6 separate regions of the Homo sapiens genome follow, and all the other regions are linked to region 1. The links are contacts of gene promoters, found by promoter capture Hi-C in blood cells and fetal thymus (Javierre and others, 2016). All regions are on one chromosome and are shown on one strand. The core of a region is centred on a gene start or on the middle of the fragment in contact, and the rest is flanking DNA. Distances in the headings are between cores, read along the strand shown.

What was found. Contacts are between HindIII fragments. The CHiCAGO score rates a contact against its expected background, and 5 or more counts as called.
Region 2: a contact is called between a fragment that was not itself captured here and the fragment with the promoter of SOWAHA in region 1, in 1 of 17 cell types (neutrophils). The highest score is 5.6, in neutrophils.
Region 3: a contact is called between a fragment that was not itself captured here and the fragment with the promoter of SOWAHA in region 1, in 5 of 17 cell types (monocytes, total CD4 T cells, naive B cells and 2 more). The highest score is 7.5, in monocytes.
Region 4: a contact is called between a fragment that was not itself captured here and the fragment with the promoter of SOWAHA in region 1, in 17 of 17 cell types (monocytes, endothelial precursors, M0 macrophages and 14 more). The highest score is 21.2, in monocytes.
Region 5: a contact is called between the fragment with the promoter of CARINH here and the fragment with the promoter of SOWAHA in region 1, in 11 of 17 cell types (megakaryocytes, M1 macrophages, endothelial precursors and 8 more). The highest score is 8.1, in megakaryocytes.
Region 6: a fragment that was not itself captured here is called in contact with the fragment with the promoter of SOWAHA in region 1 in 6 of 17 cell types (endothelial precursors, erythroblasts, M2 macrophages and 3 more); the score reaches 7.5 in endothelial precursors.

What each region holds. Positions count from the first base shown.
Region 1 is chr5:132,811,117-132,815,623 of GRCh38, forward strand. It overlaps SOWAHA (sosondowah ankyrin repeat domain family member A), which reads left to right and starts at 2,186. Exons shown (of 1, transcript NM_175873.6): 1 at 2,186-4,507. The coding sequence starts at 2,506. The coding sequence ends at 4,155. RefSeq lists a silencer at 3,221-3,290 and enhancers at 3,330-3,830, 3,831-4,331. The HindIII fragment of the contact is 6,134 bases long and covers 191-4,507 here.
Region 2 is chr5:132,338,953-132,343,459 of GRCh38, forward strand. It overlaps SLC22A4 (solute carrier family 22 member 4), which reads left to right. Exons shown (of 10, transcript NM_003059.3): 9 at 1,613-1,748. All of the region lies in intron 5 of MIR3936HG (MIR3936 host gene), which reads right to left. Among named protein-coding and RNA genes, the nearest start is that of MIR3936, 24 kb to the right of the region's middle. The HindIII fragment of the contact is 3,144 bases long and covers 968-4,111 here.
Region 3 is chr5:132,360,126-132,364,632 of GRCh38, forward strand. The region is part of intron 3 of MIR3936HG (MIR3936 host gene); the gene reads right to left. Among named protein-coding and RNA genes, the nearest start is that of MIR3936, 3.2 kb to the right of the region's middle. The HindIII fragment of the contact is 7,264 bases long and covers 1-4,507 here.
Region 4 is chr5:132,378,623-132,383,129 of GRCh38, forward strand. The region is part of intron 2 of SLC22A5 (solute carrier family 22 member 5); the gene reads left to right. Among named protein-coding and RNA genes, the nearest start is that of MIR3936HG, 11 kb to the left of the region's middle. The HindIII fragment of the contact is 1,566 bases long and covers 468-2,033 here.
Region 5 is chr5:132,408,176-132,412,682 of GRCh38, forward strand. It overlaps CARINH (colitis associated IRF1 antisense regulator of intestinal homeostasis), which reads left to right and starts at 2,754. Exons shown (of 4, transcript NR_161242.1): 1 at 2,754-2,866. RefSeq lists an enhancer at 2,103-2,152 and silencers at 2,393-2,692, 2,763-3,052. The HindIII fragment of the contact is 5,230 bases long and covers 645-4,507 here.
Region 6 is chr5:132,541,157-132,545,663 of GRCh38, forward strand. IL5 (interleukin 5) reads right to left here and starts at 2,366. Exons shown (of 4, transcript NM_000879.3): 1 at 2,179-2,366; 2 at 1,938-1,970; 3 at 859-987; 4 at 289-753. The coding sequence starts at 2,322. The coding sequence ends at 655. The HindIII fragment of the contact is 1,855 bases long and covers 1,277-3,131 here.

The DNA.
Region 1 (4,507 bases), core at 936-3,435:
TTGAACCCGGGAGGCGGAGCTTGCAGTGAGCCAAGATTGCGCCATTGCACTCCAGCTTGGGCAACAAAAGCAAAACTCCATCTCAAAAGAAAAAGGGGGGGCGCTGGGGTAAGGCTAGATGCAGTGGCTCACACGTGTAATCTTTGGAGGCTGAGGTGGAAGGCTCGCTTGAGGCCAAGGGTTTGAGACAAGCTTGGGCAATATAAAAATAAAATTAGCTGGGTGTGATGCTGTTGCGTGTGATGGTGCGTGCCCTGCGAATTCTACTCCTAGGAGCCTATCCTAAGGAATTACTCAGAAAGGTGCACAAAGTCTTATATATCAACAGCATCATTTATAAGAATTAAAAACTAGAAACAATATAAACAATGAAGAACAAGAAAACAAAGTATAATACTACATTTATTTGATGCTATCATTAAAAGTTGTATGTTTTTGAAGACTAGACTAGCTATTGTCATTGGGAGGAATGCTCACAATATAAAGTGAGGGGGAAATGTTTAAATTGTTTGCATCTTGGGGACAGGGCTGAACTCAGAAATTGCCCCTGGGGATTGGATTGGGGAAAGGGGACCCTTTACATTTTAGTCTTCTGTTTTCCTTTTGAGTAATACTAATAGTAGTGACTATACTACTAATAATAATTCAAATGATTACTGTAAGCCAAGCATTATGCTAAGTCTTTTGTGTTTATTTTCTCACTTAATTCTCTCAACCATCTGAGCAGGTAAGTACTATTTTCCTCATTCCTTTACAGACAAGAAAGCTGAGGCACAGAGAAGTCAAGGCATTTGCCCAAGGTAGAGCCAGAACTCAAGTGTAGAATGTTGACTCCAGAGTCTTGTTTTCTCAGCTACTACAATATGCTGCTTCTGGTTAGATATATTTGTAGTACTGCAATTATTTATTTATTTATGAGACAGGGCTTGCTCTTGTCATCCAGGCTGGAGTGCAGTGGCGCCATCTCAGCTCACTGCAACCTCCACCTCCCGGGTTCAAGCGATTCACCTGCCTCAGCCTCCGGAGTAGCTGGGATTACAGGTGCGTGCCATCACACCCAGCTAATTTTTGTATTTTTAAGTAGAGATGGATTTCACCATGATGGCCAGGCTGGTCTCGAACTCCTGACCTCAGATCATCCGCCCAAGTCAGCCTCCCAAAGTGCTGGGATTAGAGGCGTGAGCCATCGCGCCCGGCCTGCATTTTAAATTAAGGAACTGATTCTACCTCTGCCAGGCAGTTCCCTCAACTAGAAACCTCTTCCCCGTCTACATAACTCCCTGATCTCCTTCAAGTCCTTGTTTAAATGTCACTTTCACAACGAGTACTATCCTGACTGCCCAGATCAAAATTGCAACCTGACCCTCATCCGTTATACCCCGCTGTGCTTTTTTCATAGCATGTATTTAGTATATCATATAGTTTTCGGATTCACCATATGCTTCTGTTCTCCTCCAACACATGAGCCCCACTAGGTCACGGGTTTTTAAATCTGTCTTGCTAACTGACGCATCTTAGCCAAAAAAAAAAAAAAAAAAGTCCTGGCACAAACTACGTGCTCAATACCTATCTGTGGAACAAACGAAGGTTTAAAACCATGGCATGACTCCGCATTGCTTTCTTACTTTAAAGCATAAACATACATACACACATGGGAGACAGGGAGAGGATATTTCAAAATGTTAATGGTGATTTCAAGTGATTTTTTTTCCTTCTTTATGTTTTCCTCTATGTTTTCCTGTTATGTTTATGTTTCCTGTGGTTTTATACCCCAAATTCTACGTGAAAATGTATTCTCTTACCATGAGAAAATTGCTTTTGAAAACGTCTCTCTAAACCTAGAGTAACGTGCATTGCCGCGCAGAGTGAATTGGTTTTGCTGTAAATCTCATGAAGCCGTTTTCCTGCATGAAACACAGTAAAAAAAAAAAAAAACTGGAGTGGTATTGACGACCTTTAAAAAAAAAAGATTGTTCTGAAATCATCGCTTGGTGTTTTGCAGTGGTTAAATGTTTATTAAAGGAATAAAAATCCATTCCTCCTTGGCGGACCGCGGCGTCCCTAGGGAACACACCCACCTAGCAACCGAGACCAGAGCTGGAGCGCTGCGCCTTTAATTCTGGGGCGGGCGGGGGGCGGCGGGAATTTCTGCTCCGGTTCCCTCTGCATCGCGGGGGCAGCTGTCACCTGTAAGGCGAGCGCGGCGCGGGGGATGGAAGCAGGCGCCCATTGGACAGAATACAAAGGCAGAAACCTACCCCGAAGGCCGGGGCCCGGCGGGGCGCTGGGGGTGGGCGCTCCCCGCGGCCCCCGGCGCCCTTCGCCCCGAGACGCCCCGGCCCAGCGGCACTGGCGCGACCGAGGTCCAGCTTCGGGGACACGCCCGGCTGGCCGCGGGGAAGGCACCAGGTGAGCGCGGCCGCGCCTCCCGGAACCCCGCTCCCGCGCGTCCCGCGGCGACGCGGCGCCCACCCGCCCCGGGAGCCAGGAACCCAGGGCCCCACCATGGCGCTGGCCGCCGCCGCCGCCGCTGCGGCTGCCGGGGTGAGCCAGGCGGCGGTGCTGGGCTTCCTGCAGGAGCACGGCGGGAAGGTGCGCAACTCCGAGCTGCTGAGCCGCTTCAAGCCGCTGCTCGATGCCGGCGACCCGCGGGGCCGCGCCGCCCGCAGGGACCGCTTCAAGCAGTTCGTCAACAACGTGGCGGTGGTGAAGGAGCTCGACGGCGTCAAGTTCGTGGTGCTGAGGAAGAAGCCCCGGCCCCCGGAGCCCGAGCCCGCACCCTTCGGCCCCCCGGGGGCAGCGGCCCAGCCGTCGAAACCCACTTCGACGGTCTTGCCGCGGAGCGCCTCTGCCCCGGGAGCTCCGCCCTTGGTCCGGGTGCCGCGGCCAGTGGAGCCGCCAGGGGACCTGGGTCTGCCAACAGAGCCACAGGACACCCCGGGGGGGCCGGCCTCCGAGCCCGCTCAGCCGCCCGGGGAGCGGTCCGCCGACCCACCGCTTCCAGCCCTTGAGCTAGCCCAGGCCACCGAGAGACCCTCCGCAGACGCGGCCCCACCGCCTAGGGCCCCTTCTGAGGCGGCATCGCCCTGCTCTGATCCGCCAGACGCGGAGCCCGGGCCCGGGGCAGCGAAAGGGCCGCCGCAGCAGAAGCCCTGTATGCTGCCGGTGCGCTGCGTCCCGGCCCCCGCCACGCTCCGCCTCCGGGCGGAGGAGCCCGGCCTGCGCCGGCAGCTGTCGGAGGAGCCGAGCCCGCGGAGCTCCCCTCTGCTGCTGAGGCGGCTCTCGGTGGAAGAGTCCGGTCTGGGCCTCGGCCTGGGCCCGGGCCGCTCCCCGCACCTGAGGCGCCTGTCGCGCGCCGGCCCGCGTCTGCTGAGCCCTGACGCCGAGGAGTTGCCCGCCGCGCCGCCGCCGTCCGCGGTGCCCCTGGAGCCGTCCGAGCACGAGTGGCTCGTGCGGACTGCCGGGGGCCGCTGGACCCACCAGCTGCACGGGCTGCTGCTGCGCGACCGCGGCTTGGCGGCCAAGCGCGACTTCATGTCTGGCTTCACGGCCCTGCATTGGGCCGCCAAGAGCGGCGACGGCGAGATGGCGCTGCAGCTGGTGGAGGTCGCGCGGCGCAGTGGCGCACCAGTCGACGTGAACGCACGCTCCCACGGCGGCTACACGCCGCTGCACCTGGCTGCACTGCACGGCCACGAGGACGCTGCCGTGCTGCTGGTGGTGCGTCTGGGTGCCCAGGTGCACGTGCGTGATCACAGCGGGCGTCGCGCCTACCAGTACCTGCGGCCCGGCTCCTCGTACGCGCTGCGCCGCCTTCTTGGCGATCCAGGCCTGCGAGGCACCACGGAGCCAGATGCGACCGGTGGTGGAAGTGGCAGTCTTGCTGCCAGGCGCCCCGTACAGGTGGCCGCCACCATCCTCAGTTCCACCACCAGTGCATTTCTGGGCGTCCTGGCTGACGACCTCATGCTCCAGGACCTGGCCCGAGGCTTGAAGAAGTCGAGCTCCTTCAGCAAGTTCTTGAGCGCCTCGCCCATGGCTCCACGTAAAAAGACAAAGATCCGCGGTGGTCTGCCAGCCTTCTCAGAAATCTCTCGTCGACCTACTCCGGGGCCTTTAGCTGGTCTAGTGCCCAGTTTGCCTCCAACAACCTGAAGGTCCCTGGGGCTACCACCTGGTTGATCTATCGTGGCCTGCTCGTCGCAGTCCAAACCCGCCCAAGACTGCAGCCCAATCAACGCCTGGAGCCTCATTCTGTTTCCAGCTTTGTCCAGGGCAGCCTGTTTTACCCAGATGGGCCTGCACCTCCAGCTTCTTTCTGAAGCATGACCCATCTCCAGAGATGGGATTTGAGAAATCAGTGAGAGCTTCCTATAAAGAACTCCAGGAGACAGGCCTGAACTCTAGAGGGAACTTGAAATCCAGGGTCAAAGGTTAAGGGGCAGCAGCTGGTCTGGCCCCTGAAAGCCTTCACCTGATGCCTCTGCAGCTACACAATCCCAAGACA
Region 2 (4,507 bases), core at 1,290-3,789, 470 kb before region 1:
AAGGGTGTTGATTGGGGAAGTGATAAGTGTCCATGAAATCTTCACAATTTATGTTCAGAGATTGCAGTAAAGACAGGCGTAAGAAATTATAAAAGTATTAATTTGGGGAACTAATAAATGTCCATGAAATCTTCACAATCCACATTCTTCTGCCATGGCTTCAGCCAGTCCCTCCTTTCGGGGTCCCTAACTTCCTGCAACAGGTGTATTCATCTTTTTCTTTTTGACTTGTGCAAACTCTTTGCAATGGAAGAAATTAGCCCCTTGTATATATGTTGTAAATATTTTTCCTAGTTTACCATTTGTATTTTCACTTTATGATATCTTTGTAATGAAGACAATTTTAGTTTTTATATACTCAAAGGTGTCAATCTGAAATGAAACTACAGAGGTGTTTCAGCGGCATGTTCAATCTGATGTAGGATCTGACACCCCATGCCTGGTCCTCATTAAGGACTCTACTGGTGAGAAATGCAGACACACCTCATCAATTGGGCAATTGGTTACCTACTGGTACACACGTACACACACACACACACACACACACACACCTGAAAACATGTATGAATTCTCAGGAAAGGTATAATCCAAACCCTTACAGAGAAAGAGAAACATTTTCCTAACAAACATATTCTGCACAGTTGCCCTGTGCCACACCTGAGATAGCAGATTATACAGAGTGGTGTTATTTTTCCCTTTGTCCTTCCCTGTACTTTCAAACTATTTCAAACTATGCTCAGATGGTCCAGTGGTCAGACACTGGTACATAAGACAGGGAGTCCAAGAGTCTCCTACTCCACACAGCTACTCCTGTTAGTGACACAGAGGCCTCAGAGAAGCTGCAATAACAATATTTTCCTTATGTTTTGGGTCAAATGAAATCCATGGGTGTGCTGTTCCTCTGTAAGCTCTGTATGTATACAGGGGCAAAGCAAGATGAGGATCTGTTTTTCTCCTGTGTGAGTAAAGCTTCACAAAGAGATTACATATTAACCCAAGACATGTAAGTGCTCCAAAAAGAAGCCAAATCCAGGCACACAGTGCCTTTACAGAATGTGCCTGATACTTATAATTTACTGATTTAATCTGAAGTGAACATAATACTTAGTTGTTTTTTTTTTTTTTTTTTTTTTTTTTGAGTCTCATAGCCCTGTGGACCTAACTTTCCACTGCAGCCTACTAGTTTGGGCAAAAGCAGAGTCATGCCAGACCTATCATAGCCAAAACCTATCCCTGAAACATCCTGGTTAACCTCCTTCTCCTTGATGTCCTCCCATCCCCCATTTCCAATTACCTCCACCTTAAGAGGAGAACTCTGGTAGGCAAAGAACTCTACCAAAGGAACATCTGTCACACATGACTGAGTAGTAGCTTAGAGGATACCAGTTGACAGGAAAGAATGAAAAGCCTTATGATAATGCAAAAGGATTATAGACATGCACAATGTCATCTGCCAAAAAGAAACTGATATTTTGCTTACTTTTTTTTCTCTGAAAATGTTCAGATTTAAATCCATTCTCTTATACTGTTCACCAACTTCACAAAATGATGCTCAAGAGTGCCCAGAGAGTCCTCCTATCTGATTGATGTTCTTATGTCCCGGGCTTTACAGGTGCTTACAACAGAATGCTGCCCTACATCGTCATGGGTAGTCTGACTGTCCTGATTGGAATCCTCACCCTTTTTTTCCCTGAAAGTTTGGGAATGACTCTTCCAGAAACCTTAGAGCAGATGCAGAAAGTGAAATGGTAAGTAGGACTTTTAACAAAATGATACCAAAATGCCTTAGGGAGAATAAGCATGGAAGAATAGCTAGGAAGGTTCTGAAATAGAAGAGTAATAAGTAGAGACTAGCTCTATCAGATAATAAAGCATATTGTTGGCTGGGCACAGTGGCTCACGCCTGTAATCCCAGCACTTTGGGAGGCTGAGGCAGGTGGATCACCTGAGGTCAGGAATTTGAGACCAGCCTGGCCAACATAGTGAAACCTCATCTTTACTAAAAATACAAAAAATTAGCTGGGTGTGGTGGCAGTCACATGTAATCCCAGCTACTCAGGAGGCTGAGGCAGGAGAACTGCTTGACCCAGGAGGCAGAGGTTGCAGTGAGCTGAGATCACACCACTGCACTCCAGCCTGGGCAACAAGAGCAAAACTCCGTCTCAAAAAAAATAAATAAATAATAGGCCAGGCGCGGTGGCACATGCCTGTAATCCCAACACTTTGGGAGGCTGAGGCAGGCGGATCATGAGGTCAAGAGATCGAGACCATCCTGGCCAACATGGTGAAACCCTGTCTCTACTAAAAATACAAAAATTAGCTGGGCATGGTGGCACACACCTGTAGTCCCAGCTACTCAGGAGGCTGAGGTAGGAGAATTGCTTGAACCCGGGAGGTGGAGGTTGCAGTGAGCCAACATCATGCCACCGCACTCCAGACTGGGCAACAGAGCTAGACTCTGTCTCAAAAATAATAATAATAGTAATAAAGCATATTGTTGAGCAATAGTAATTAAAACAATGTGATAATGGTATAGGAATAGAAACCAATGGAATAGGATAGAGTTCAGGATAAAACCCAAGAAAATATAAAAATTCAGTATGTAATAAAAAGTAGCAAAGTCAAGGGGGAATAGTTATTCAGTAAAAGGTATTAGAACATTCAGCTAGACATTTTGAATAAATTAAAAAGTTGTCTCTTTAAAAAATGCATTGGCTGGGCATGGTGGCTCACACCTGTAATCCCAGCACTTAGGGAGATTGAGGCAGGCAGATTGCTTGAGGTCAGGAGTTCGAGAACAGTCTGTCCAACATGGTGAAACCCCATCTCTACTAAAAATACAAAAATTAGCCAGGCATGGTGGCGCACCCCTGTAATCCCAGCTCGCGGGAGGCTGAGGCAGGAGAATCGCTTGAACCAGGGTGGTGGATGTTGCAGTGAGCCGAAATCGCGCCACTACACTCCAGTCTGCGTGACAGAGCGAGACTCCGTCTCCAAAAAAAAAACACATCAAGATAAAATCCAGACAGTTAAAAAATTTAGGCCTAAAAATGTAAAATCATAAATATACCAGGAGGAAACAAACATTTTTATAACCTTAGAGAAGATCTTACTGAGCATAACATAAAATCAAAGAACCATAAAGGAACAGATTGATATATCTGATTGTACATTTTTTAAATTATTGGCAAGGCAAAAAGAAACCACCCACAAAGACAAAAGTCAATAAGCCAGGAGAAAATATTTGCTACACAAAACCTAAACATAAGGCTAATATACTTAATATACAAAAAGCTCATAGTAACCAGTGAGAAAAAGACAAACAATTCAGTAGGAAAACCAGCAAAGGACAAGAACAGACAGTTTACAGAAGAAGTCACTTCAGTGTCCAATATATACATGAAAAAAGTTATTTGTCCACATTAATAAGGAAATGCAAAAATAAAACAATTCAACATCTTTTTTTGGCTTATGAGATTGCGCAAGGGTTTTTCTTCTTGACGCAAACCAATTCTGACACCTATTGAGTGTCCTATAATGCAGTTCAATTTTGACAATACCTAAATTTAGCATCAGACTCCACAGGTGTAAAGACTCAGTCCCACAATACTGCCTTGCTTCACTTGCCACTCACAAATGTCAGGTCCCCAGGTTACCCACATTTCTCTCTGACTTTGCTACCAAGTCTGGGGTTCCAACAAATCCCCTCCTTGGGTTTGATTATTTGCTAGAATGACTCACAGCACTCAGAACACTGGCCACTAGCGGTTTCTTACAAAGGATACAAATGAACAGCCAGATGAAGAGGTACATACAGAGAGGTCTGGAAGGGTCCTGAGTGCAGAGGTTCTGTCCCTACGGAGTTAAGGTGCACTGCCCTCCTGGCATGTGGATGTGGTCACCAACTCGGAAGTTCTCCAAACCCCATCATTTAGAGGTTTTCATGGAGGTTTAGTCATGTTGGCATGATGGATTATTAAGTCTATCCCCAGCCTCTCTCCTCTCCCCAGAGGTTCCAGGCTTCTAATCCAGGCTTAGTCTTCTGGTGACCAGCCCCCACCCTGAAGCTATCTAAGGGCCCAGCCAAGGGTTGCCTCATTAGAACAAAAGAAGCTTTTATCACTCCCTATCACTCCAGAAATTATAAGAGATTTAGGATCTCTATGTTAGGAGCCAGGGACAAAGACCAGTATCTTTTTATGACACCACAGCAAACATTTAAAAGATTAGTGGTATTTAGGAGAAGTTTAGAGTTTCGAGTAACACTGCCTGGCTTTAAATCCCAAATCTACTGCAAAAATTTGGGCATATCACTTAATATTCACTAAGCTTCAGTATTCCCATCTGCTATATGGGATATTTCATACGGCTATTTTGAGGTTATAAAAGATAAAGTGTTCCCAGTGCCTGGCCTTGATAAAGGTAACTCTGCATATGAATTAATTCTGATCCCTGACAGAACATTTATAGCAAAAAGTGCCCATTGTTGATAAGTTGTTTTCTTCTA
Region 3 (4,507 bases), core at 629-3,128, 450 kb before region 1:
AAAAAAAAAACTGTGGATAAGGGGGTATTAGAGTTTTCCAAAGAAACCCAACTAATAGGATTACAGATATAGGTATAGATCAATAGGAGGAGATTTACTATATGAACTGGCTCATATGATTACAGAGGCTAAGAAGTCCCATGACATGCTATCTGCAAGCTGGAGAACCAGGAAAGGTGATGGTGTAATTCAGTCCAAGTCTGAAAGACTGAGGGGAAAAGGGTAAGGTGTAAGTCCCAGAGTCGGGAGATCCAAGAACATGGAGCTCTGATTTCCTGAAGGCAGGAGAAAATGGATGTCCCAGCTCAAGAAGAGAGAGAATGAGAGAATTTGCCCTTCCTATGCCTTAAAAAAAAATTTTTTTTTTTTTGAGACGGAGTCTTGATCTGTCGCCCAGGCTGGAGTGCAGTGGTGCAATCTCCACTCATTGCAACCTCCGCCTCCGGGGTTCACTCCATTCTCCTGCCTCAGCCTCCTGAGTAGCGGGTACTACAGGTGCCCACCACAACGCCCGGCTAATTTTTTGTATTTTTGGTAGAGACGGGGTTTCACCATGTTAGCCAGGATGGTCTCGATCTCCTGACCTCATGATCCGCCTGCCTCGGCCTCCCAAAGTGCTGGGATTACAGGCATGAGCCACTGCACCCAGCCAAAAAAAATTTTTTTAAAGAGAAAGGTCTTGCTATGTTGCCCTGGCTGGCCTCAAACTCCTGGGCCCCAGCATCTTCCTGCCGCAGCCTTCCAAGAAGCTGGAACTATAGGCACATCCTCTGACTTTTTGTTCTGTGTGAGCAGGAGTCCTCAGTGAATTGGATGATGCCTGCCCACATTGGTGAGGGCGGACCTTATTTGCTCCGTCTACTGATTCAAATGCTTGTGAACCTCTCCGAACACATCCTCACAGACACAGACACAGACACAAATAATGTTTTACTTGCTATCTCATAAAATTAACCATCATGCAGACAGACCAGACCTCTAATATGGACCTACCACATGCTAACTATAGCAACTGGGTAAATTACTTTACTTCTCTTTTGTTTCTTTGCCTGTAAAGTGAAGACAAGAATATCAATCGCGTAAAGCTATTGTGAGGATGAAATGAGGTCATGTACTATTGTTAGTATTATTCTTGTAATAATACAATAGCAGAGCAAATTGATACTTGCCCAGGACCTCCTAATTTCTGCCTTAACCTGGCATCTAGCTTAGAACACATTAACATAGTTAATAACTTATATTATCCAAATTTAACTCAGCCAAGACCTCCTGATCTCCTTCGATGGAATTTTACTCTAAGATGACTGTATTCCCTAGGGAAACCTATGTGTTCCTATATGACTTCTCTCCTGGGTGATTCTGTCCAGACCCATGGCCTTAAATACCATCTATATGTGAATGATTCCCTAATTTATATCTCATTCTGATCTCTTTTATGACCTTCAGACTCATATATCCAGCCGTCTATTTGACATTTTGACTTGGATGTCTAATAGACATCCCAAAATTGCATTTAAAATAAAACTCTTGCACAGGCAACAAAAGAAAAAATAGAAAAATTGGGCTACATCAAAAATGTAAAACTTCTGTGCGTAAAAGGATATAATCAATAGTGAAAAGGCATAGAATGGGAGAAAATATTTGCAAATCATGTATCTGATAAGTGGTTCATATCCCAAATATGTAAAGAACTCCTACAATTCAACAACAACAAAAAAAAAACCTGATTTTAAAATGGGCAAAAGAGTTGAGTAGACATTTCTCCAAAGAAAATATATAAATTGCCAATAAGCACATGAAAAGATGCTCAACATAATTAATAATTAGGGAAATGCAAATAAAACCACAATGAAATACCACTTTATACCCATTAGGATAGCTTCTGTAAAAAAACAAAAACAAACAAAACAACAACAACAGCAAAACCACAGAAAATAACAAGTATTGGCGAGGACGTGGAGAAACTGGAACTCTTGTGCACTGTTGGTGGGAATGTAAAATGGTACAGCTACCGGGGAAAACAGTATGGCAATTCCTTAAAAAAATTAAACATAGAATTACCACATGATCCAGCAATTCCACTTCTGGGTATATACCCAAAGAATTAAAAGCAAGTACTCAAATAGATACTTGTACATACATGTTCACAGCAGCATTAGTCACAACAGGCAAAAGATGGAAGCAACCCAAGTGTCCATCAGTGGATGAATGGGTAAACAAAATGTAGTATACATATATAATGGCATATTATTCAGTCTTAAAAAGGAAGGAAATTCTGACATATGCTACAACATGGATGAACCTTGAAGACATTATGCTAAGTGACAATAAAAGCGAGTCACAAAAGGACAAATACTATGTGATTCCACTTATGAGAGTGGTCAAATTCATAGAGACTTCTGTATTATAGAAGGGTTTTCGGGGCTAGGGTAAGGAGGGGAGTGGGGAGTTAGTGTTTAATAGGTACAGAGTTTCAATTTTGCAAGATGAAAAGAGTTCTCTACAGATGGATGATGGTGATGGTTGCACAATGTGAATGTACTTAATGCCCTTAAGAGTGGTTAAAATGGTAAATTTTATGTTATGTGTATTTCACCACAATTTTTAAAAAGCAAAAAATAAAAATAAAAAACTCTTAATTTCCCAAACCCCCACCCCATCAAATCTCCCCATTTCAAAAACAAACATGAAAAGCTATAAAGTTGCTCAGGCTAAAAATCCAGGAGTCATCCTTAATTTCCTTCCCTCATGCCCACATCCAATAGTAAATCATGTCACCTTTTTCCTCCAAAAATATTCTGAATTCATCCATTTATCTCTTCCACAGTTACCACTCTAGTTCAGGCCATCATAAGCTCTTGCCTATAATGCTGCAATGCTTTCTAATCAGTCAACCTGCTTTCATTCTTGTCCTCTACAGTCCCTTCTCTATATAGCAGCCAGAATGTTCCTTTTATGCTAGAAGTAAGACCTTATGCTTTTCTCTGCCTGAAAATACTCTGATAGGCCAGGCACGGTGGCCCACACCTATAATCCTAGCACTTTGGGAGGCCAAAGTGGGCAGCATTCAAGACCAGCCTGGGCAACATGGCAAAATCCCATCTCTACAAAAAATACAAAAATTAGCCAGGTGTGGTGCGTGTAGTCCTAGCTTCTGGGGAAGATGAGGTGTGAGGATCACTTAAGCCCAGGAGGCAGAAGTTGCAGAGAGTCAAGATCATGCCACTGCACTCCAGCCTGGGTGACAGTGAGACCCTGTCTCAAAAAAGAAAAAATATTCTGGTAGTGTTCCATCTAGAATAAAATCCAAACTCCTTGCCACTATCTACAAGGCACTAGACAATTTGGCTTCCATAAAAACTGGCCTCCTGCCAATGTCTCTGACTTATGTTCCAACATTACTCACTTTGATCACTATGTTCTAGTCACGCTGGTCTTCTCTCCGTTACTTAGTCACCCCGAGCACATCCCTTACCTCACAGTCTTTGTACTTGCTGCTCTTCTGCTTAGTACACCTGCTTCCCAGATCTTCACATGACAGATTCCTTCTCGTCCTTTGCCTCTCAGCTCAGATATCACTTTCTCAGAAACATGTTCACTTACCATTCATCTAAAGCAGCTACCCAATGACTGTCATTCTATACCATTACTCTCTTTTCTTTCACCTTGGCAATTACCACTACTTGAAGTTTGTATTTATTTGTACAAGTTTATTGTCAGCCTCTCCATCCTCCAAGTAAAATACGAGCTCCATGAAAACAGATAGCTTGTTTCTTTCCTCAGTTCCCAGAACTCGGAACAGTGTTTGGCACACATCAGTCTATTCATATGTTTGCCAAATGAACGAAGAAGTAAAAACCACTAGTGACCCAATTTTCCTGCCATGTCATATATATACATAAAAGTCTTTTGGGAAAACTCATATTTCTATATTGGCCCTCACTAATGTCTTTTCCATCTATTCTAGAATGCAATAACCAGTCTTTAAAATGCAAGCAGAATATTTCACATTTCATTTTTGCAGGTATCTCTGAGGGGAATGAATTTACATTTCTACTACCACAAATAGGATGGTCAAGTTTGTTGCAATGCAAAATTTTTTCTGTGGAATTCAAAAACTGTCCTGTACCTCTTGAAGCCGAATTGTGGGGTTTCACATTGGAAATTACACTCATCTAAAGAAACAGTCTGGACATTTAAGTCCTTAAACAGTTGTTCAAAGTATTTTATTACATACTTTTTCTAGTCTTCAGAATGTTTCAAGGTCCATTGTCTTCATGGCTAGTTACCTGTCTGTCCAGGCCAAACAAACTGGAGTTAAAATGCAGAATCACATAACAGCAGAAATGTGATTTCTCATTCTATTGTGCAATCCAACAGAATTGTGCCAAGTCTTGCTAGGCTGACGCTGCTCTACTCTGCCCAAATGCCAATATGCATTGGGGTGATGACATCCCACTTGGGATATTGTCTGATGACACAGACAGACTTCTCTGTTTCTCCACTC
Region 4 (4,507 bases), core at 1-2,500, 430 kb before region 1:
GACTCCATGCCTAGTAAGAAGAGCCAACAAATCTGACTCCGTAATTCTTGCTAAGTAAAGAAACCTGAGCTGTCTAAGCTGAATGTATCTGTGACCCGGTTGACTAGGTAATATGCCATGATTCACTTCTGCAGTAGCCTGGCTTGCCTCCCCTGGGTCACTGTGACTCTGTCATGCCCCTGAGCATGGGAGAGGTTGACATCATGCACACATGCACATGTGCTAGATTGTAGATCTGTAGTAGTGCCACGGTGTCTGCCTCTGTAGTCCCAAGAAGACCAGCATTCTCTCTGCAAAGTGAAAGGAGCTCTCACCAGCCACTAGTGGTATGAAAAGCAGAACTCTTTTGTCCACAAGGCTGATGCCCCTTAGCTAAGTGGCCTGTGGTTTTGGCATTTACTTTATGACAGGAGGGAGAATAGTGTTTTGATCCATTTCTTATAAGCAGGTTATTTGTATAATTCTAAAGCTTTTAACTCAAGGAAACATTAACGGCTTAGAGAATCCCAAACCCCTCGAAATTATATGCACAATGTTAGAGACTACATGTGAGCATTTTTTTGGAGAGAGGTCCGTAGCTTTCATGAAGTTCTTAGAGGGGTCCATTATGTTGTGTCTTCTTTCCCTGGAGCTTCAGGGTCTGTCAGAGAAGACTGTGAAGAGAGTAGCAGCCTTCAGCAAGTCCTTGGCCACATGACACATGTGAGAACACCCCACAAATCGGTGGGTTAGCCGGTGGAAAGGAGTCCCAGCATCTTCCCTGGTTTTTAATTCCTGGCCTCAAGCAATCCTCCCTCCATAACCTCCCAAAGTGCTGGGATTACAGGCGTGAGACACCATGCGCAGCCAGATATTTTTTATTGTTGTTGTTTTTTTTTGGAAAAGGAGTTTCACTCTTGTTACCCAGGCTGGAGTGCAATGGCACGATCTCGGCTCACTGCAACCTCTGCCTCGCAGGTTCAAGAGATTCTCCTGTCTCAGCCTCCCGAGTTGCTGGGATTACAGGCATGCACCACCATGCCCAGCTAATTTTGTATTTTTAATAGAGACAAGGTTTCTCCATGTTGGTCAGGCTGGTCTCAAACTCCCGACCTCAGGTGATCCACCCACCTCGGCCTCCCAAAGTGCTGGGATTACAGGCGCGAGCCACTGCACCTGCCCAGCCAGATTTTTTTTTAAAAAGCAGGTTAACCTGTTTATTATTCCTACTTTACAGATGGAGAAAGTGAGACAGAGGGATTAAATAACTTGCCCAGGGTTTCACAGCTGGCAAGTGGCAGAGTTAGGATTTGGACCCAGGTAGTCTTGCTCCTCTATTGTGTATGGACTACTGTTCTAGGTCCCTGCTGTCCTAAAACTTGCTTTCTAGCAAGGTGGAATGTATTAAACAACCAAGTGAGGAAGTCGTTGTTGTCCTTGGCCATGGTAAGAGATACAGAGAAGTGCAGGGTGCCACAGGAGTGTCTAACAGAGGAGGTCAGGGGCAGCATCCCTGAGAAGGTGAAGCATGAGCGAGAGTGGGAAGATGAGTCGAAAGTAGCCAGCTGAGGGGTAGAGAGGAGAAAGAACATCCAGGCAGGGAGAATAGCAAGTGCTAAAGCCGGGGCTCATGAAAAGGCATGGGAGCAGGACAAAGTCCGTGTGGTAGAGGTGCGGAGAGTGGTGTTAAGATGAAGGGGAGAGGCAGGCAGAGCCCTGGGCAGATGAGCAACCAGGGCTTAGTGGATCACAGTTAGGACTTTGGGCTTCAGCCACAGAGCAGCGGTGGGCTACTGAGATTTTTTAAAGCAATAGTGTGACAATCAGATTTGTCCTTTTTTTTTTTTAAAGATGCTTTGACAACCTTGTGAAGAAAGAATTGAAGGGAAGCAAAAGGTGTTGTAGAGAGACCAATTAAAAGGTTGTCACAGTAGTTCATGCCAGAGATGATGGTGGCATGGCCTAGCATGACGGTGGTAGAAATGGAGGGAAGTGGTAAGAGGTAAAATCAACAAGACTTGCCGATGGGCTGGATGTCGGAATTGGGGGAAGAAAGCTTTCTGGCCTGAGTAACTGGGTGAATGAAGGTACACTTCTCTAAGACAGAGAATGCTGGAAAAGAACCACGTTCATGGATATTGAGTTCAATTTGTGTGTACTAAATTTGGGGTGACTATGAGACCCCTAAGTGGAGAAGTAGAGTGTGAAGCTGGCTGTATGGATATGGTACTGCATGAGAGGTTTTGGCTAGAGAAACACATGTAGGATTTGTCAGCATATAGAACCCTCAGCAGAGCCCCAGATAGGGATGAGGTTGCCTGGGGAGAGGGGAGTGGGGAGGGGAGGGGGGAACTGGGGGAGGATTGTGCTATGCTTAGAGGCCACCTGAGTGGACATGGGAGATTCCTTCTCACGGAGCTAAGTGACAGCTGCGGCTCAGAAGAATGCCCTTGATGTGAAAAGGAGATACCCCAAGTTCAGAGTAGAAATGCAGTGTATTTTTCTGGGTCAGCTGTGTCATGGGTCAGCTTAAGAACCTTCTTGCCATGTGACACAATGATTACCTGAGGAAAGCATTTAAGTTCCAAAAGGTCTATTCCCAGGGAAACTGGAAACAAAATTTGTGAGTGTGTTTAGGACCACTTTAGTCTACAGAAGGGCTAATATAGTGTTTTTCAAACCTTTCTAAACATTTTGGCCACAGAACTTTCATTAAAGTAGGATAATTTAAGTCTAGTAAATGAAATACACCCTAAGTGGCTAAAAGTATGGCTGTTCTGCCTGCAGCCCCTGCCTTCAATTCCCAATGCCCTGCCTCAAGCCTGTCTGTGCCCCCTTGGAAGGCCCAGGGCCCTGTGGGATGGACAGCTTCTGAGTGCATTACTTCTGAGTAAACCAGTTCTAAAACCTAAGCTAAGTAGATTACCTGAAAGCAATCAATTCATGCCCTAACTTGTCTAGGACATCAATGTAACTTTTTATATAGTATAAAGGTTTCACCTTCTTTCTGGCCTATGAATATGTCTGAAATTCAAGAGCAATTAAAGTACTCCTGGGTTGTCAAAGCCCTTTATGTAACACTATTGAGTTATCTTTATGCGTCTGACTTGTAAGAGATGCACAACTCTAGGAAGAAGTAGACTGCTGTGTCCTGTTTCCAGGTATGTGTGTGTTTGCCATTTTGTTGACAGACTTTAAAAGCAAACATTTCTGGCCCCAACCCTGAACTGCCAAGGACTGGTGCTATGTAAAGGGTTCTCTGGATCTGTCTCTTCCCTACCATCCCAGGGAGCTCTTAGGAAGGGAAAGGGCATAGAGATTATACCAGCCTGCCTTGTGGTTAGGAACCACCCCTTGGTTGGCATATAGAACATGCTTGTTAAAAAAACCATGCAGGGGAAAGTAGAGTCTACTACCAGGCGAGAGTTTCTCAACCTCGACCCTATTAACATTTTGAGCCAAATAATTTTGTTCTAGGGCATTTTCCTGGGCATTTTAGAATATTTAACAACATATCTGGCCTCTACTCATTAGATGCCAGTGAACCCCAAGTGATGGAAAAAAACAACAACAACAGAAAAAAACCTCTTTTATTGAGGAAAAACACCAAACTCTTCCACATAGTTGCAAGACCTTGTGCAATTTGCCTCCTAGCCACCACTGTACTCTTGAATTGCACGCCTGATGCCAACCACACTGGTTCCTCATGTTCACCATGCCCCCTCCAGCCATGGGGGTGTGTGGTCTTCTCAGAGTCTGAAGCATTCCCCACCCACCCCAACCCACCCCCTGTGGCCTTCTTTAACCATGCTGGCTAATTCAGGATCCCTAGTTCCTTATGACTTTCCTTTAAAACGTCTACCAGAAATTGGGGGAAAAAAAGTGTTATTATAGGATTAATGTTGGTCTTCCGCACTATACTGTGAATATCATTGAGAGCTTGGTCCCTACACCTTAAATCCCCCATCGTCAACTATTTTTTCCCATCTCAGTGTCCCATGATCAAGGAGACCCTCCCTGAATGTCCAGTTCCCCAACCCTTACCCCCAGTCCAGGGTAGCTTCCTTCCTTGTGCCTCTCATTAACCTGCATGCCGATCCTTCAGTGCACTTGACTCAGTGTGTAATTGTATATTCAGTAGCGTGTTGTTAGATTAAAATGTGGTTAATATGTGTTTCACCAGTTATACTATGACACTCCTTAAGGGCAGAAACAGCATCTTTTTTAATTTATTGATATCCAAGTGCCCTCTATAATAGATGCTCAATAAACATTGAATGAAAGTGGGTGTCAGCCAGTACTGGCCAGACTCAAACTGAACCCACTGCTTCCCACTAGCTTGACTTTTTCCTCCTGTTTGTGGCACTCTCTTTAAAACAAACCAAAATAAACCCAATTTTAAAAACTTTTTAAAATGAGCACGGATACAGAAAACCACACAGAACAAATGTGTAGCTTAATGAATTTTTTTCAGAGAAATAACCTTATGACCACCACCAAGTCGAGCAGTAGAACTTTGCTGTCCACT
Region 5 (4,507 bases), core at 1,504-4,003, 400 kb before region 1:
TTTTGCTTCTTTTGTGTCTTTACTGACTATCAGTGCAGGCCTGGATAAAGTTCTTGTTGCAGAACTTGCTACTGCACAAACTTTTGTTCCAGGGTTAGATCAGGAAGGATAGTAAGGAAAACAGAGCTGTCTCCAAAAGGTGGGATAGAAAGCTGTCCTTTAGAAGTTAAATTATAAATCAAGCCAATCAGAGCAAAGATACAAAATGTCTCCATAAAGAAAAATAAGGGCTGAGAGACCTTACTGAGTAATGTTACTCAGTAACGCCTTGCTCTATCTAAAAATGTCCATCTGAGGAGAGGCGGCCTGGGTACCATAATACAGAGAGCCTCATCGACACAAACAGATGGTGTCCACCAGGCCCCATCTAGGGAGAAGGGCTGGCCAGGCCAGCAGGGATGAGTGAACAGTACTTCCTATAGGTTTTGACCTGTGTTGTGGAAAGAGACATCCCACATTGCCCGAGCCTGATATCATCAAACATTTAAGTCAGACAATTCACTCTTCCGATTCTGATTTTAGGCTCACTAAGCCACCTTCTGACTATGGGGCTCCAAACTGCATGGCTACAAGAAGAGAATGTGTTCATCAGGTGGCCTCGAGTCCAGTGTTCCCGACAGTCTTGCTTCTAACAGGAATGGATAAGCTTCAGGTTTTGGGGTCAGATGGCCTTGATTCAAACCCTGCCACTAACATACATAGTAACTATGTGACCTTGGGATTTCCTTCATCTTTTTTTCTCCCAAATGAAAAATAAATAGATTATAATATACCACATGATAGTAGGGAGAAATAATGAGGTAATAATGCATGTAATGCATTTAGCATAGCACTTCTCTAGCAAATAGTGAATGAAATCAGTCAGTTGTCATTCTGACTTTATGCAACAGTGCTAATCGACTCTGGTACACTGGAAGTCAGATGAGATTTTTGGCCCCACAAAGTCAAGGACCAAACCTGGACCTTGGGAAGTTGCCAAGATGAAAAACATCAGGCCGGCCTTGACCTCCTGATGCTCTCTGTTCACATGTGTGATGTCTATAAAAGGTAACCAGGATTTGGCTTATCTGCTTACATCTCTTCCTGTCTTTTCCTGATCTTCATCTTCCCAAACATAGTTTTTATGCAGAAGCAGATTTAACTCTACTTTGCTATCTTGGAGTCAAGAATTGTCCTATAAGGAGGAAGAGGCTCCAAGGCTTGCCTTTTTTGTTTTTTCTTTTTCCTTCATACTACAGACTAAAAGTAGCATCTTCTGGACAGAGAAACAGGCTGTTGTTTTTCTAAGGTCATCATTTGGCCTGCCCCACTTTCCCACCTGCTCTTGAGGGAACTATTGCAAGGACACATACAAGCCCCTACATCAGTCACAGACCAGGGCCTCCATCTTGCAGGGAATGTGCCCAAATTACAAACAGGTAAACCAAAGTGACTCTGGGCAGATTTAATAGCTCATTTTGGTTTCTTGTTCCAGTTATAACAGACTGCTCTGTGTTTGCTCTATGGCAAAAACTTTTATGTTTGCTTTGCAACAAACGTACAGACAGGGCAAACTGTGTTTGGAGTATGGTGTCTTACCAATGTTTTCTAAAAGCAAGTGAATAGAAATGCTTGCAAAAGTATTTTCAGACCTCAGTGGCCAGCGCTGAACACCGCTGTAGGAATGTCCATCAAACGTTGTGGCCATGCTCCACTCTAACAAAAACCTGGTTCCGTGGCATAATTGTGGGGGCTAATTGTCAGGCTAAGTTTCAGACACCTTCCAAAAAAAATTGCAGGGCTTCCTCAGTCTTTAAACTCCAGATAATATTGTCCAAACTTTGACAACTAACCTGTTATCATGGAGATAGCTCCAAGTTGATGGACTGGCCATTAGAGAATGTCTATCAAGCATCCAGGTAAATGACTTGGTTGCTGCCCTCAAGGAACCCACTTAGAGGCTGTCAGAAAATTTTAAGTATTTTCTTCCTTCTATTGTTCATTCCTAAAATTCTGGCAGTAGGTATGATTATTATTATTCCCATCCCACAGGGGAAGTAATTAAGTCTAACTACTTGAATATTTTGCCCCAAATCACTGACAGTAAGAGACGGCCAGACACTGAAACCTGGAATCTCTAAATGTTTAGATATTGATGGGCACCGCTTAGACCAGGGAGTCCAAACCATAGGCTTGCTGTTCCAGTTTCTCTTATCGGATGAAGGGACCCCCATTTCACCGACGTCATTGACTTTTGGGTTCTCCGCTGACCCCAGATGAGATGCCTGGTACCTCATGGTCAAGTCCCCTCCAACGGGGACTCCTCAGAGGCTTGGTCCCAGTTGCTCAGGCTGCCATCTGCCTCCTCAGGCCAGAGCCCGAGGCGCCGCCAGCGGTCAGGTCCCGGGCCGGCTGCCAGCCACAGGCCCAAGTAAACGCTGAATGAAGGGCAGATGGAGGAACCTGTCCCGGTCGGCCGAAGCGCCGCGGGCGCCTTTCCACTTACGGCGGGCCTGCCCAGCCTCCCGCCCAGCCCGGGCCCGGGTCCCGCCGAGGCAGGTGTGCGTGGCGGACTAGCTCTCGGGCACTCGGCTGGCCCAGCTCCACCCCGAACGCCACCGGGCCAGGCCACGCGCAGACCCGAGCCCGGGGCCCCCGCCTCTGGCTGCCGGCCCGCGCCCGCCGCGCGCCCCGCGTTCACTGCGCGCTCGGCCCCGGTCCCGCCTCCCGGAGGGTTTCGCTTTCGCTTTCCTGCCGATGTCGTTGAGGAAAATGAAAGCGGTCGTGGCCAGGACTGGCGCAGCTGCCGTTTCAGGCGAGGGGCGCAGAATGCAGCGGCCGCCAGCCTGGAGCGCGGGCCCTGGGGCCGCAACCCGCGCCGGGCGAGGTAAGCACAGCCCCTTCGCGGCCGCCTCGCGGGCTCCTCCTTGCGGACCCGGCGGGCCCGACGCCAGGCGTTTGACCCGGGCAGGGTCAGGGGTTCTGCCGTGGGGGCGGGGAGGGCCTGAGAAGCGGCACCCTTGGGTTTCGTGGCTTTGAGCCTCCAGGCCAGGCTGGAAGACCTGGGAGGCCTCAGACAAGCGTGCCAAGGGGCTAGCAGCCCGGGGTCGAGCTGGAACCGTGGCAAGTCGGGCCACCTGAGCACGCCTTTCCCTTTTGTAGAGCACCGACCTCCCTGGGTGTTGGTAAAAATCAAAAGTGGGAGGGTGTACGTAAAATGCTGAACAGAATGCCTAACCTGAGCTCATAATCTACTCCCTCTGACCTGTCAGACTCATTTTTCCCACTGGGCCCCACCCCATACCTCATGTAGTTTGCTTAAGTTTCCTAGATCTGGTGCACCTGGGGGCACTTGGAGTGCCTTCCAAGTGTTCCTTGACCGAGCAAGCTGGCAGCTCATCTCCCTTGATCACGGGCATGGAGAGCAACTAGGCCAGGATGTGGCCCCCTTGCCCTGGCCCTGTCCATGTGAAGTCAGGGCCTTACTCTGCTGGGGCCCCCATCCCGGGGCTAGCATAGATGTCAGGGATAGGTGCACTCACAGACCGAGTCCTTCCCAGACCAGGAAATTTCCAGTCCACTGCATCTGCCAGCAGAAGCATGAAAGATGCGTGCCACCTTGTCTTTGCCCTTCGTCAAGTATAGCCAACTCATTCTTGGTATGCAGGAAGGGGGTTCCACCCCAGGGCTGTGGAAACAGCCCCTGCCCTTAGGGCGTTCCCATCCCCTGAAGAGAGAAAATATGTATTCAAGTTACCCATCAGGCAGGTTGTGTAGAACAAGGACAGGTGAGTGAAAGAGCTAAGAGCTGAGAGTAAAGTGACTAAATCATCAGAAACTTTACATTTAAGTTATGACAGGTTTTGCAGGCCAATACCAAGAATCCCCTTTAACTCAATTTTTGTCTCAATAATAATGAATTCAGCCTAATCACACAGATCTGATCATACGGCCCATTACTGAAACAAAACTTGAATGATCTTTACTTTGAGAAAACCATCTGAATTTGACAAAAGATGGTCTAAGTTCCTAAGTTTCAAAACATGGAGTCCGCCGCTGCCCTACCTCAGCAGGATGGTGTTGAGTACTGATTGCTTTTAGAAAATGCTGCTCTTGCCGGGCACGGTGGCTCACGCCTGTAATCCCAGCACTTCAGGAGGCCGAGGCGGGCTGATTACCTGAGGTCGGGAGTTTGAGACCAGCCTGACAAACATGGAGAAACCCCGTCTCTACTAAAAATACAAAATTAGCCAGGCATTGTGGCACATGCCTGTAATCCCAGCTACTTGGGAGGCTGAGGTAGGAGAATTGCTTGAACCCGGGAGGCGGAGGTTGCAGTGAGCCAAGATCGCGCCACTGCACTCCAGCCTCGGCAACAAGAGCTAAACTCCGTCTAAAAAAAACAAAGAAAGAAAAAAAGAAAATAGAGAAAATGCTGCTGTTTTCATGAGCCAGAAAATTAGATGCACTTCCATTCACATTCCATTGGCATGGACTAGTCTCATGGGTCTCACCTAATTGTAAGGTG
Region 6 (4,507 bases), core at 954-3,453, 270 kb before region 1:
AAGCACATTCATTCATTTATTCCCTACCATTTACCCTGCACCATCCCAGGTTCTGGATATACTGTAGAGAGAAAACCAGGTTCACCTCCTGCCTGTGTCCCTGCTCCCCACATCCCCACTAAGTCCTGCTAGATCACTTCCACCTCTGGTGTGCCTTGCAACCTTGAGACTTCTCCAGAGAAATGGGGATGCTCAGCCACATGTGCTCAGACCCTTCCTCCAAACTGGGCATGTACTCAATGGACTGTGCTAACTTCAATTGCTAAGACAGAGGCCAGCAGCAAATTGAACAGTTGTCTATTTTTGTTTTATTAGAACACAACATAACATTAAATAAATACTAATTTACCAAATTCTTAACCATTTCATAAATACTATTAAGTTAACAGACATTTTACAGAATGTTAAGTTAAATAAGAAAAAAGTATATCAATTTTGCCTGGAGGAAAATACTTCAATGATTCTGATATCTGAAATATATTTTAAGAATTTTATGCTTTCTGGCAAAGTGTCAGTATGCCTGAAATATTTACTTTCCCTCTGAAGTTAAATTATACTGAAAATTAAGGCCTGACTCTTTCTTGGCCCTCATTCTCACTGCAGTAAAATGTCCTTCTCCTCCAAAATCTTTGGCTGCAACAAACCAGTTTAGTCTCAACTTTCTATTATCCACTCGGTGTTCATTACACCAAGAAACTCTTGCAGGTAGTCTAGGAATTGGTTTACTCTCCGTCTTTCTTCTCCACACTTTTTCTGTGAAAAAAGAAAAATGACAATAGGTATTACAGGAAACTGTCAATTCCATAGAAATAGGCACAGCCAGACAAATATAGCTTCCATTGAATGTGTGTAACTTACTTTTTGGCCGTCAATGTATTTCTTTATTAAGGACAAGTTTTTGAATAGTCTTTCCACAGTACCCCCTTGCACAGTTTGACTCTCCAGTGTGCCTATTCCCTGAAAGATTTCTTCAGTGCACAGTTGGTGCTAAATGAGGAAAATTTTTAAAATGCAAATAATCAAGACAAGGTATAAAAATTTGGTCCATTGTCCATTCTGCAATGTATACATACTTCAAAACATCATATTGTACACAATAAATATATATACTTTTTAATTCATCAATTAAAAAATAATTATTAAAACAATTTTGGTCCACAAAGTTAGGCTTTGTTTTGTGGTATTTACATGAGTTCCCTTCTCCAAAGAGTTTTTTGTTTGTTTTCTAGGCAACAAACCACCACATATTAAGATAAAATTTTCAAAAAGTAGATGAAGCTTATATGATTACTGAGGAGTTTTATAAAGGATATAACTTAATTATGTAACTGGAAAAAAATGTTTTGGAAGTGTAATGCATTATACATTAAACTCATATCAATGTGTTTCTACAGTTCTAGCTGGTAGTTTTATTCTATTTAGACTAATAAAACTATATATTTTACATTTTAATATGACCAGGACATATTCAAATGCATACAACACCATCATATAGTCATAATTATTTAAGTATGCAGAAATTATTAATATAGGGCATTTGTTATATATTTTAATGTCTACTGATCATGGTTCTAAAAATATAATTCTGAGTTGCTAATACTTTCAGAAACACGTTAGAGTGAGAAAGAGTCAGAACTGCACGGAGACTAGCACGCACCTCTCACTCAGTGTGGAATCCTTCTGGAAAGAATCCCTGACACGATGCTCTTTGGGAGGCAAACTAACAACATCACCAAAGAGCCTAATCCACTTGTTTAAAGGATTCTACTTGATAAAAAGTCATTCCTCATATTTATAAGTACAGACATTCACAGCCACCCATATGAAAACAAAATATAGAAAATTAAATAGTTCCAATGATAACTAATGATTTACAGCTTAAAACAGGAAATTTACTTATTCATGCCATCATTTTACTGAATCATAATTTAACTTACATTTTTATGTACAGGAACAGGAATCCTCAGAGTCTGGAGAGGAAAGGAAATACAATCATTTTTACAGCACACCAGCATTCATAACTTTTAACAGAATGTTTGCTGGTGATGTAGTTATCACCCATGTACTAATGTGCTCAGAATCTTATTATTTATAACAGATCTCTATATATAGTAAAGGAACCATCACAAATGATTACCTATGCACTTTACAGACTGTAGGAATCATAAAGAAAATTACCTCATTGGCTATCAGCAGAGTTCGATGAGTAGAAAGCAGTGCCAAGGTCTCTTTCACCAATGCACTTGTGGGAATTTCTGTGGGGATGGCATACACGTAGGCAGCTCCAAGAGCTAGCAAACTCAAATGCAGAAGCATCCTCATGGCTCTGAAACGTTCTGCGTTTGCCTTTGGCAAAGAAAGTGCATAGTACAAGACTGCGTCCCCAGTCAATTTATTGTCTGTCTTTGAGGAAATGAATAATTTCTAACAATCAGATAGAGAATGCCTAATAATGGCATATCGTGAAACTAAATGTTTCCAATGCCTTATATCTTAAAAAATAAATTTACTTTTATCTTTTAATAATAAAAATCCCTGTTTCCCCCCTTTAAAAACATTTTCTATTACGAAGAATCTTTGGGTTAATACATCATTGCCCCACATTTGCATTTCTTAAAATCAGAAAATTAACTTCCTCTTAAAAGATGTGTGCAAAACAAAGTATAAGGTAGACCACTAAACAGAATTTTATGCTAAAATACATAAATATTGGGAATGTTTTTTTCAGATCGGCTATGTTCTACTATGACTGTGGCTAGATTAATCTGTCTTAAAAGAAATTGAAAATACTGGTGGGAAGACAGTGATTGAAATGGAAACTGCCAAGCCTTGGCAGGGTCGAGTTCTGTTCACTGGGGTCTTGATTAGGATCCTTTCTGTTGCCAGTGACTAAAAACCTAACCTAAAGTTGTTGAAGATAAAGAGGGAAGGTATTGGCTCATAGAACCAAACAGTCCAGGAATGGAGGCTCTTTTACATTTTGATGGCTTCAGTGACTCTTCCTTGACTCCATCCTTGGGCACCTTTCCCATTGAGGTCTCAAGATGATGTCCAGACTCCTGGATCTATATGTATTCTGTTCATGAGCAGCAGGAAAAAGCAAGCTGTGCTTTTCTGATTGTTTAATCAAAAGCTTTCAAATTCAGTCTCTTTCTGACAAGGGTCACATGTTCATCCTTGAACTGTGACCAGGGTGTAGTATATACTGATTGGCTCTCCCTGGAGCTAGAGGTGACCCTAATCCTACCTCAACTGCATAGCTTAGAAATGTGGGGTCCCAGTAGTAAGGGGGACACAGATTCTAGGAAGGCAACCAATAAATATCTGTCACAGATACACAATACATGGATGTGTCCTCTCCTTTATGTCCCATAAGGGTGGAGGTGTCCTTTCACACCTTGGGCGGGCCATGAAATTAGGGGAATCAGCCTTTGTTCCTTAGGCTCAGACCTGTAATCCCAGAAAGGTACAAATGAGGCCCCCTCCTAGATCACACACTTCCTTTTTCCCTGGCCTGAACACATATGATGGAGGTGTATGTGGCTCATTGTTTTTAATAGAGTGCTTCAGTGAGCATCCCAGAGTGGCTCTATGTTGCAGCCTAGAAGCCTGACTTCAGGCCTGTCTTGAGCGTCAAGAACAGATGGTACCAAACACAAACTGTTGCCCAGAACAGTTTTCCAAAGCTAGGTGCAGTTGTGTAGGAGAAGTAGAGGCAGCTGGGAGGTAGACACACCTTTCATACATACTCAATCCCAGCTCTGCACTGGAAAGATAAAGACAGTCTTGGATTTCAGTGGCGGCCTTCTTGTACCACGTTTGGTTTTGTTTGTGCTGAAGTTTTGGACTCTTGGTTAGATGTGTCTGATTTGCGCACTTGAGAAATGTTTTCCTTGAGAAATGTTTCCTTGAGACTGCAGAAGTTTGGCTCACTTCAGAAAATCTATCGGGAGTGAGATTTTCGGGAGTAGGAATCACAATAGGCTTGGTCAAAGTGCTCTTAAAATGGTATTCTCAGAAAAGAAGCTGAGTTCTGGCAGGAGCTTTCTCTTCCCAGAGAATATGAGAGCGTTCTCTCTGATTCCCCCTGACACCTTTATGTTACACTGAGGAAGTTAGGGCTTAGGTGAAAGTTTCAGGGGAATTGCCAAATAACTTGTTATTTTAGTACCTTAAATACACAAAGTTCTGAGTGCTTAAATTCTATCATAGGAGGCTGGGCAAGGTGGCTCATGCTTGTAATCCCAGCACTTTGGGAGGCTGAAGCAGAAGGATTGCTTGAGCCCAGGAGTTTGAGACCAGCCCAGGCAACATAGTGAGACTCCATCTCTAGAAAAAATAAAAAATTGGGCTAAACACAGTGGCTCACGCCTGTAATCCCAGCACTTTGGTAAGCCCAGGCAGTGGATCCCTTGAGCCCAGGAGTTCAAGACCAGTGAGTGAAATGGGCAGGGTGTAATACATCAAAGCTGGTGGGGGTCACATGAAACTATAGCATGCATGATCT